2 separate regions of the Homo sapiens genome follow, and region 2 is linked to region 1. Evidence: promoter capture Hi-C in 16 types of primary human blood cells and fetal thymus (Javierre and others, 2016). All regions are on one chromosome and are shown on one strand. The core of a region is centred on a gene start or on the middle of the fragment in contact, and the rest is flanking DNA. Distances in the headings are between cores, read along the strand shown. Region 1 holds the start of POU3F3 (POU class 3 homeobox 3). Region 2 overlaps LINC01965 (long intergenic non-protein coding RNA 1965).

Region 1 (5,325 bases), core at 1,370-3,869:
TTGCGCTTGCGGCCCTGCGCCGCGATCTTGTCGATGCTTGTGGGGCTGCCGGTGCTTGAGTCCGCCTCCTCCAGCCACTTGTTCAGCAGCGGCTTGAGCTTGCACATGTTCTTGAAGCTCAGCTGCAGGGCCTCGAAGCGGCAGATGGTGGTCTGCGAGAACACGTTGCCGTAGAGTGTGCCCAGCGCCAACCCCACGTCGGCCTGCGTGAAGCCCAGCTTGATGCGCCGCTGCTTGAACTGCTTGGCGAACTGCTCCAGGTCGTCCGACGTCGGCGTGTCCTCGTCCGAGTGCGGGTCGTGGCTGTTGAGTCCAGGCCCCGCGCCGCCGCCGCCGCCGCCGTGGTGCGGGGGTCCCTGCGCGTGGTGCGGGTGCGGCGGGTGAGGATGCGCGTGGTGGTGGTGGTGGTGGTGGTGCTCGGCCAGCTCTGGCGTGTCCCCGCGCACCAGCCCCGGGTGCACCAAGCTCTGGGCTCCACCGCCCGCGCCGCCGCCGCCGCCGCCGGGCCCCGGTGGCGCGCTCAGCATGCCGTTCACCGTGAAGCCTCCGGGCTGCGAGTAGAGCAGACTCTGCGGCGGCGGCTGCTGGCCCCCGGCCATGGACGGGAGGTGCGCGGCGGCGGCGGCGGCGGCGGCTGCGGCTGCGGCAGCGGCGGCCGCCCCCCAGCCCCCAGGGTGGCCCTGGTGTGGGGGCGGCGGCGGGGGTCCGAGGTGCGGCGGCCCGCGGTGGTGCAGCGCTGTGCCCGCGTGCAGGTCGTCGCGCCCGGCGCCGCCCTTCACGTCGGGGCCCTGCGGCGGTGGCGGCGGCGGCTGCGGTGGCTGCTGGGGGCTGCCAGCCATGCCCACGGCGCTGCCCGACCACGGCGAGCTCGCCTCCACGGCGGCGGCGGCGGCAGCGGCGGCGGCGGCGGCGGCGTGGGGCAGGGCTGTGACCCACTGGTGCGCGTGGCTCAGCATATGGCCGCCGTTGCTGGCGGCCATGGCCCCCTGCATGAAGTCGCTCTGGACCATCTTGACAGAGGACGGGTCCCCCCGGTAGGCGCCCGAGGTCACGGCGGCGCTGCCCGGCTGCATGCCGCCGCCCCCGCCCCCTGCGCCGCCCCCGCCGCCGCCGCCGCCGCCACCCCCGCCGCCGCCAGCCCCTGCCGCGTCCGAGTGCACAATAGAGCCGGCCGCGAGCAGGCTGTTCCCCGGCAGGTAGGGGTTAGAAGCCGCCGTGGCCATGCCGCTCCGCTCCCGCCACCCCACCGCCGCCACCACCGCCGCCGCCGCCGCAGCAGCAGCCGCGGCCGCCGCCGCCGCCGCCGCCGCCGCGCCCCCCGCCTCCCGCCTCCTCCCCCCCTCCTTCCCCGCCCCCGCCCCGGGCCCCCGCCGGCCCCGCCGCCTTCGCCGCCTCCTCCTCCGCCGCCGCCTCCGCCCCCGCCGCCGCCGCCGCCGCCGCGGCCCCCGGCTGCAGCTGCAAGGCCGCTCGGCAGGGCGCGGGGGTCGCCGGCCGGCCTTGGTCACCAGCAGCAGCAGCAGCCGCAGGAGCAGCGCTCTGGGGAGGGGGGCTCGCTTCTCGGGGTGCGCTCCGTGGCCACCCCCTTCAGGGGGGGTCGTGGCCGCCCCCCAGCCCCGGCGCGCTGGGCTCGCTCCAGCGGGGCTCGCCGGGCGGGGCGGGGACCTGCACTCGGGGCGCTCTCCCGGGACGCGCGGGCTCCCGCTCCTCCTCCTGTCCTCGGGCGAGCCCGGACTCTGCCCGGTCGCGGGGCTCCGTCCACCTGCTAAGTGAAGGTTTCACGGGAGATAACAAAGAAAGAAGCTGCTCCTTTCTTCCTTAGCCAAATTACGGATGACCAGCAACCGGCCCGCTCCTTCTCTTGTCCGCTCTCTCCTCTCCTCTCCTCTCCTCCTCAGGAACACATTTCACTCGTTTTCCCTTAGAGTAGTAAAACTTTTTCGTCCTTGAAGGCGTGGTGCTGCTGGCTGCTCGCGAGTGCGGAGAGGGGAGGCTGGCTCCTGCTCTCCCCCTCTGGTCCTCTCGTTTCAAGTTTTGTTCTGTCCTAGGAAAACTTCTTGCGATGGTGCATTTCTCTGAAGTTGCTATTGCCGGAGCTCTTGGTTGCCTCTGAAACAAGAGTCCTTTTTCATTCTCCTCGCAACAGTCACAGTCTGATGCGACATCTTTCCTTTTGGGCAGAAATTAGGAAACAAATATAACAAGGAAAAAATTGAACAGGAAAAAAAATGATGTCGAATCGCTCTGTTACCTTGTTGCTGACGGTTGGGGTTGGTGTTTTATTTTTTTCCCAGCAGTTGTCTGGAGAAGGAGGAGGAAGAAGAGTGCATTGGTGGAGGTGGAGGTGTGTGTGTGCATATAGGGGATCGATCCTTGATACACAACAACTCCAGTGGGCACGCTGCACGGCTCGTAGAGTGCACCGACGGCGGGCGCTGGCGCTGGCCGTGCTGGAGCAGAGTTGCAGCAGGAGCTCGCTCTGCGCCCTCGTTCGCGCTCTCTTTCCCTCTCTCACTTTTCCTCTCCCTCCCTCTCTCTCTCTCCCTCTCTCGGGCGCCCGCTCTCGCTCCGATCTGACAGTTCGCTCTCTGTCCCTCCCTCTCAGAGCGGGGACTGTCGAATGTTTACCCTCCGCCGCGAGCGCGCACCCACCACCACACTTTCCCAAATACAAGGAAGTCGAGCACCAGGGCCCCCGCTGATTGGCTACCCGCTGGGTGATTGGCAGGCTCGGAATGACTGGCTCAGGACGCGAGGCCCCCCTTCCGGCCGTTCCGATTGGTTGCTTTTTAATTTAGGCAGAGCGTCGTAGAAGCTGGAAATCTGTCGTCCTCCAGCCTCCCTCCCCCTCACCACTTTCCCCTCCCCGCCCCTCCCCCGCCGCCCCCTCCGCCACATCTTAACTCTTAGTGTCCGGCCCAGACGTTGGCGTTCCCTCGGCGGCTCTGGGCGTTCGCAATAGGTCTGGGCGGGGGGAAGAAAGGGGAGATAAAAGGGAGGGAGGGACGAGAGGGGGGAAGAGAATCAGAAGGAAAACGAAGGGGGAAACATGAAAAATAGCAACCTGCCCACCCCACCTAGTACGCGTCGGGTTGCTCACCCCCTTACCCCCGCCCCGCCAGAGATTTGTAAAGCGCGCGGCACGGATGTACCATTCAAGCTAATACCTATAGACAGATGTGTCCCCAGTGGTTTCAAAGTTTCCTCTTCCCTTCACCAGCCGGCCCCCTTCTCTGATCGGCGGGGGTGGGAAGCGGGGGCTCGCATCGCCAAGAGCTCTGGTCGTGGCCACGCTCCTTGGAAATCCGCCACCGCAACTTTCCGCAGCCGTTGCGCGCCGGCGGCAGCCCCCTTTGTTTAAGTTCTCGGATGCCATCATCTGGGAAACCTGCAGCCCAGGACCAGCGCGGTGCCCGCGCGTGCGAGACGGACCGCTCGCTGCCGCCGCTCCCTGGCTCCTCCACCCCCTCTCTCCCTCCTTCGCTCTCCCTCCCTTCCTCCCTCCTCCCTCCTCTGGGATTCGTGCAAGTAGCGTGCGTGCCCTTGTGAGTTTGGAGGGTGCCGGTCAGCGGAGCCGTGCGATGTATTTGAAAAGCAATCAGTCCGACCTTCCCCCATAGATTCATCGTAAGTGTATTCGACCCCAATGGCTTTAGGAATTCCCTGTGGCAGCAGGAGCCGGGCGAAAGAACCGGGATCGGCTAGCCGCGCCCTTCTCTGCTCCACCGCTTCCTCGTGTGTGTGTGTGTGTGTGTGTGTGTGTGTGTGTGTGATTAGCGGTGGGGGGGTTTGCTCGCTCTCTATTCTTAGGCATGGTGGTGCTTTTTTTTCTTTCCTTTCTGTCTCAGATGGATTTGCGTGGTGGATGGGGCTGGCGGCGACAAATGCTTTCTCAGCTCTAACCCAGCTGAAAGAGTTAAGGGGGATGGGAGGGGGAGTGCACCCGGTAGGCGAGAGAAGCGGGGGTGGGGTGGGGTGGGGTGGGGGGACGCGGCCAAGCGGAAACGCTGCACAGAGGAACCTCAGCGAACCAAGAAAAAAGAGAAAGTGGCAACGAAAACAAGGGCAAATTGAGCCCTCCTCGGGGATTTCCAATGAACTAACCCAACTCGGACATTCAATAAATACATGGCTCTTAATGAGCGTGCGTGTGCGTGCACCCCGCACCCCTAGCTGCGGGTGCGCCCGCTTGCGCCCGCCGCCCCCAGCCAGAGCCTGCATCTGGCAGTCCCGAGCCCGAGCGGCAGCCCAGGACGCAGCCGAGGAGCGGCCGCCGGTGCGCTCCGATTAAAATGTGAACGGGCCTGCCCTTCTCTCCCGCTGTATCGTGCCTCTGCCGAGCGCAGTTAAGTGAACTCAGTGAAAGCAGGAGTTCTCCTGCCCAGCCGCAGCCAGGCAGCCCCCGCGTGATCTCAAGATTAACACTAGACGCGTAGAATTTATGTAGGCTCTTGTCCAGCTCCTGCTTGCCGGGTGAGATACCATCGTAGGTAGGTTTTAGCAAAGCCATTATTGCCAAGGTATAGATACCAAAGGCGGTGGTAACCAAACCCCAAACAGAACGGATTTTTTTCCTCTGCGGCCCCCAAAGGTTGCTTTTTATATTTACGTATGCGTATATGTATATATAAAAGATGGAACACAGATTTCATTGAATCAATCTGAGATCTCCAGGTGCAGACGTTTGAATAGTCGGTGCCAGCACCCCGTGTTTTCCTTTCCTGCCGATTTTGCTTGGATCCGGCTCAAAAACCGAGAGAGTCTCGTGGTTTTGTTTACACTGAATGGGGAGGATAGGAACAGAGCCATGGGGCCGCCTTTCATTAATATACAGTGAGGATTTTGTCTAAATTACTGCTATGAATTTCACAGTACACGCTTTCAAAAGCAGTCTCAGGTGGCCTGATGAAACGTGATAGCGCCTCTGCAAACAGATCCACTTTCTTTCTTTTCAAGAGGGTGTGTGTGCGCGTATGGGAAGCCCCCCAAAACGTTGTGCTCCTCGATAACAGAAACACACTTCTGTTCCGAGGTCTGTCCCCTTCTTCCTCCCCCCCTTTCGTCGTACTTAATTCTCGAATCGCTCCCCGGCCTCTCTCCCCCCTCCACGCTGCCCCACCCCATCCGCCCCCTCCCTTTGCGAGTGTGATTGTTTTGTCTGGAAAAAAAAAATCCAAAGTATATAACAAGGGGAGAACAGTTAGTGCTGATTTTCATTTGCATACATTTTCATATATTTTGGTGAAAATAATAGACTAGTGGAGAGCTGGGCTTCGAGGCGTCAGTGTGAAGGGAAGGCTAAGGACGCATCGGTGCTGGAGAGTTGAG
Region 2 (5,325 bases), core at 846-3,345, 900 kb after region 1:
GGTCTGATGGTTTCAAGAAACAGTAGACAACTACAAAATGTTTCTGTCCCAGGGAAAGATTTTTCAATACTTTTCTTTTTTGTCAACTATACTTTGTTTTAAGCTAAGCATATTAAGATTTCATCAAGTTACTTTGCCTGTAAGACTCTGGAAAAGTTGAGACCTCACACAAAGATATTCATCTTAGAAGTTCACAAAGAGCCAACATGAATAAAGATAAATAAAATATTTCATAAAGAAAGTGGTAGGCATGGACAGAATGAGAATGGCATATTAATGTAGCAAAATTATGTCCATGGGCATTAAAAGGCCATCAAACATTTTTAAAAGGTTTTACTTTGAAACAATGTCAAACATACAGTAAAATTTCAAGTACAGTGCAAGGAACATTATTTTTCTCTGAATCTTTTAAGGGTAAGATGCTGACTTGATGCCTCATTACCAACGAATATTTTAGTGCATATTCACTATAAATAAGGACATTCTTCTGCCTAACTATAATATTGTCGTCAACATCAGGAAAGTAACATTGATATGATATTAGTATTTAATTGGTAGGCCCCATTCAAGTTTTGCCGGTGGTCCCCAAAATGTTTCTTTTAACAAAGGGCTCGAGTCCAAAAACGTGTGCTGCATTCAGTTGTCATGCTTTTCAGTTTTGTTCAGTGTGGAATATTTTCTCACCCTTTCCTTGATTATCATGAAATTGACACAATCACACATGTTGGGCCAGTTATTTTGTAGAATGTCCTCAACTTGCCTTTGTCTAATGTTTCTTCAGGTTTAGATCCAGGTTGTACAACTTTGGCAGAAGAGATCAAGTGTCCTTTTTGTTGCATCCAATCAGGTGGCACCCAATTTCAATTTGTTCCCATAATACTGATGTTGTCTTTTATCACCTGATTAAGGTGGTTTCTCCCAGATGTCTTCAATGCAGAATAACTCTTTTTCCCAATGTAATTTAATAAGTATTTTGTTGGAAGATATTTGGATACCATATAAACATCTCCTTATTGAAATGTCTATCTGTTTATATCCAGATGGCCTAATCAATTCCTAATTTAATCAAAGGATTATAACCTATTATGATCATTATTTATTTTGATAATCAAATTGCACCCTATTTGACCAGCAACAGGCTTTTCAAAAGGGTTTTTATCTTGTGAATTTGACAAGTCACAATCATCTTTGGGACACTGCTTTGCTTAGGGACACAGTAAGATGTTCCAAGTTAATGTTTCACCTGTTCTGCCTCAGCACTCGATGTAGTCATTTCCCCAAGGAGCCCTGGCCAGTAGCATCATATTTAGAAGTCAATACCTAGGTGCTAGGAGAGTTACCCCTATATATTAGGGTGACACTCTTAACATAAGATATTAGGAGTGTCACCCCATTAACACTGGGGTGACTCTTCTTCCAGGTCTTGCCACTGGATAGAAATACATGTATAGACATAAACACGTGTATATCTATATCTATACATCTAAATCTATTTGTTTATATCAAAAATAATGAATTAATATTGATATCTCTATCAATTCAACATTCTAGGATACATTTTAGTTTTCACTCTTATATGTACCTCCCTTTTCAAACAGTGAAGAACCTGCTTCTCTTGTCCAAAATACACTTAAATAATCTCTCCCCCATATCCAACTCATTCATTGACACCATCCCTGTGCCTCAACTTTCCCTGCTCTGCCATCCCCACCTGGTTTACTGCCAGCACCTGTTACTTATCACATGGTTGTTCTTCCTATGCTGCTCATGTTTAAACAACCATTTTCATCATCCACATTTTTAAACACAGTCAAATTTGTGTTTTGGATGGATAAGTGTGACAACAGTGTCGCTAAAGTGAGGGAAGCAGAGATTGCCATCTGCCAGTCCCAGGGAAATATTTAATGCAAATATTAAAGCAAGAAGTGATGAGGAAAATGAGGGGGGAATAGACTCAAGATACATATCTCTGATAAAATACCCTGAAGAGAGGTGAGAGGAAATGGTTGATGAAAATACTAAGGCTTATACTTTGAGGGTAATTAAATTTTCCAAAATTGTGAATACAGGACAGAGACAAGGTTATTTATTTCTTGTTTGTCTTGTACAATTTTGTTTGATGTCATTTTAGGGTTGAGAAAGAAGATAATTTCAGATTTAGAAATGACATTTATTAGATGTTGGCAAGAACATTTTTTCAGTTGAAGTGGTCGGGTAGAACCCTGGTTGTGTTGAGTTGAGGAATGAGTGAGGTTTAGATATCTTGTAATGACAAAATAAAACAAAGGATGTCTTGCTTTTGTTTTTATAAACATTATTTTCATGATGTATTTATTGATTTCAAGTCTCTAATTTCTTTTCTCTTCTCTTAGATGAAGACAACTGTAGAATCTATTCTCTACCTAAATGAAATATTGTTTTTGTTCTCCCTCAGTCTATTCCACCTTTGCTCACCATTTCTCCCTTAGGCAAGTAGGTAAGGAGATAAATAACCAGGCTTAGATGGTGAACAACAAATAGAAAGGGAAAGGAGAGAATGATGACAGCCATTCTACTTATAGTCTTTCTTCCAGAGTCCTGAATGTTTGAATTGTATTAGTGCCCTGTTGCCACCATAACAAATTACTGTGGACTCAGTGGCTTAAAACACTTTAAATATATTATCTTACTGTTCTGGAGAACAGAAGTCTGAAATGGGTCTTATGGGCTAAAATCATGGGTTTAGGGAGCTTCATTCATTGTGGAATCTCTAGAGACCATTCTATTTCCTTGCCTTTTCCAGTTCTATAAGCCATTCACATTCCTTGGCTAGTGACCCCTTCCTCCATTACAAAGTGTATCACTCCAGCTTCTGCTCCCTTTGCCACTTCTCTTCTCTTTATGGCTTTGGCCCTTACACAGTGCTCTTATTAGGATCCTTGTGATCACATTGGGTCAATTTGAATAATCTGGGATAACCTCTTCATCTCAAGATTTTTAACTGAATCACGTGGGAGAAGTCTTTTTTTCTGTTTTTTTTTTTTCTTTATTTTATTGTATTATTATTATACTTTAAGTTTTAGGGTACATGTGCACAATATGCAGGTTAGTTACATATGTATACATGTGCCATGCTGGTGTGCTGCACCCATTAACTCGTCATCTAGCATTAGGTATATCTCCTAGTGCTATCCCTTCCCCCTCCCCCCACCCCACAACAGTCCCCAGAGTGTGATGTTCCCCTTCCTGTGTCCATGTGTTCTCGTTGTTCAATTCCCACCTATGAGTGAGAACATGCGGTGTTTGGTTTTTTGTCCTTGCGATAGTTTACTGAGAATGATGATTTCCAATTTCATCCATGTCCCTATAAAGGACATGAACTCATCATTTTTTATGGCTGCATAGTATTCCATGGTGTATATGTGCCACATTTTCTTAATCCAGTCTATCATTGTTGGACATTCGGGTTGGTTCCAAGTCTTTGCTATTGTGAATAGTGCCGCAATAAACATACTTGTGCATGTGTCTTTATAGCAGCGTGATTTATAGTCCTTTGGGTATATACCCAGTAATGGGATGGCTGGGCCAAATGGTATTTCTAGTTCTAGATCCCTAAGGAATCTCCACACTGACTTCCACAATGGTTGAACTAGTTTACAGTCCCACCAACAGTGTAAAAGTGTTCCTATTTCTCCACATCCTCTCCAGCACCTGTTGTTTCCTGACTTTTTAATGATTGCCATTCTAACTGGTGTGAGATGGTATCTCATTGTGGTTTTGATTTGCATTTCTCTGATGGCCAGTGATGGTGAGCATTTTTTCACGTGTTTTTTGGCTGCATAAATGTCTTCTTTTAGAAGTGTTTTTTTCTATGTGAGGTAAGGTATTCACTGGTTCTGGGGATTAGGACATGGACATCTTTGAAGGGAAGGTTCTATTATTAGGTCCACGAACTACACTTAACAAAGTTTTCAACACTTAGCACCATGAAAATAAGCCTATGGGCTACATACCATTGTTACATGTCATTTTTTAGTTTAATTAACTCTATAAGCTATTTACAGAATTTAGGTAACTCGGCAAAGTTCATATAGTTAGTAAATAGGAGAACTCAGAAATTCATCCAGGTCTGTGACTCAAAAACCCATAACTGTAAATAATGACTATACAAACTAGGCTAGCGTGTATTATATACTATAGCATTTTTAACACTATAGATAGTAATACCAATAATTTAAAAGAAAATCCAGGAATCCAAGAACAACAAGCAAAAAGAAGATAGACAGTAGCAGGAGAGTGTCTGGGAGCCTTCTGTCTATGCCTTGTAAATCTGGCCCTTGCACAGAGATCCTAGTTACACACTCTGGGTATGTTTCACCTTCTCTGGCATTTGGGGGTAGATGAATGGCTACTATGACCTGTACAATGATAAAGCCAGAGGAAGAGGGAGAGTCACATACATTGTAAAATGGAGGAAAATAGGACAATGCAAAAGAAAATATAGAGGAGATAGAAGGAAGGATGGCTGAGGAATAAGGAAAAAAAGAAGAAGAGAGAAAAAAAGTATCCTCTTCTTGGATCTGCAAATTATACACAATCTTGATGTTTGCATAACTGGCTTAATGATTTGGGAACAGATTGGGGTGACCATTGTGGATGGATTCTCAAGGGAGTCAATATAGTTAAACATAACTACTAAAACTCTATTTATGTCTTTCCACATAGGGGACATTAACAAATTTAATGGAATACTTCATGAAATTTTGCTTTTGGTCTTAAATATCTATATATTACTGTGTAGTTATAACAATAACTTAAGGTGTTCTAAAACTACACTGACTTAATGTTTTCTTTCATCAAGAACATACAGACACACAAATGAGAAACATGTAAAATTAAACCAAAATATAACTGGAAACTAAAGGTCAGTTTCAGTCTCCTTATCCTTTTATTGCCCCAACACCTGATTTTCTGGGAGAGAACAAAACTTATTCTCCTGCAAATAGATTACTTCAAGGATAAACTTAATTTCAACTTTACCCGTTACCCTCATTACCATAATCACCACAAACTCTTGTGCTGTAAGTCCCATGTATTCAATCCCCACCAATAGGCAGGCACCATGCTAATGTCAATGCATATTTTCTTCAAACAAAAGCTATATGTTCTTTGGTGATTTCAGCATTAAAAAACATCGTGCTATCATTTGTTCATAGATTTTCTATGTCTCAATTAGATATCTTCTAATTGTAATAAGTAGCAAAGTAGCTACTTATGCAAATACAAAATGACTGGTACCTAGAAGACTAATGTTATCTAAGGCTTTAGCAAACATGTGTGCTATCC

What was found. The method cuts DNA at HindIII sites, captures the fragments that hold promoters and counts their contacts. A CHiCAGO score of 5 or more calls a contact.
Region 2: a fragment that was not itself captured here is called in contact with the fragment with the promoter of POU3F3 in region 1 in 1 of 17 cell types (megakaryocytes); the score reaches 5.6 in megakaryocytes.

Annotation. Positions count from the first base shown.
Region 1 is chr2:104,851,409-104,856,733 of GRCh38, reverse strand. POU3F3 (POU class 3 homeobox 3) reads right to left here and starts at 2,619. Exons shown (of 1, transcript NM_006236.3): 1 at 1-2,619. The coding sequence starts at 1,223. It overlaps PANTR1 (POU3F3 adjacent non-coding transcript 1), which reads left to right and starts at 5,258. Exons shown (of 4, transcript NR_037883.1): 1 at 5,258-5,325. RefSeq lists an enhancer at 2,426-3,015 and a silencer at 4,224-4,273. The HindIII fragment of the contact is 8,766 bases long and covers 1-5,325 here.
Region 2 is chr2:103,947,972-103,953,296 of GRCh38, reverse strand. The region is part of intron 1 of LINC01965 (long intergenic non-protein coding RNA 1965); the gene reads right to left. Among named protein-coding and RNA genes, the nearest start is that of LINC01965, 76 kb to the right of the region's middle. The HindIII fragment of the contact is 8,352 bases long and covers 1-5,325 here.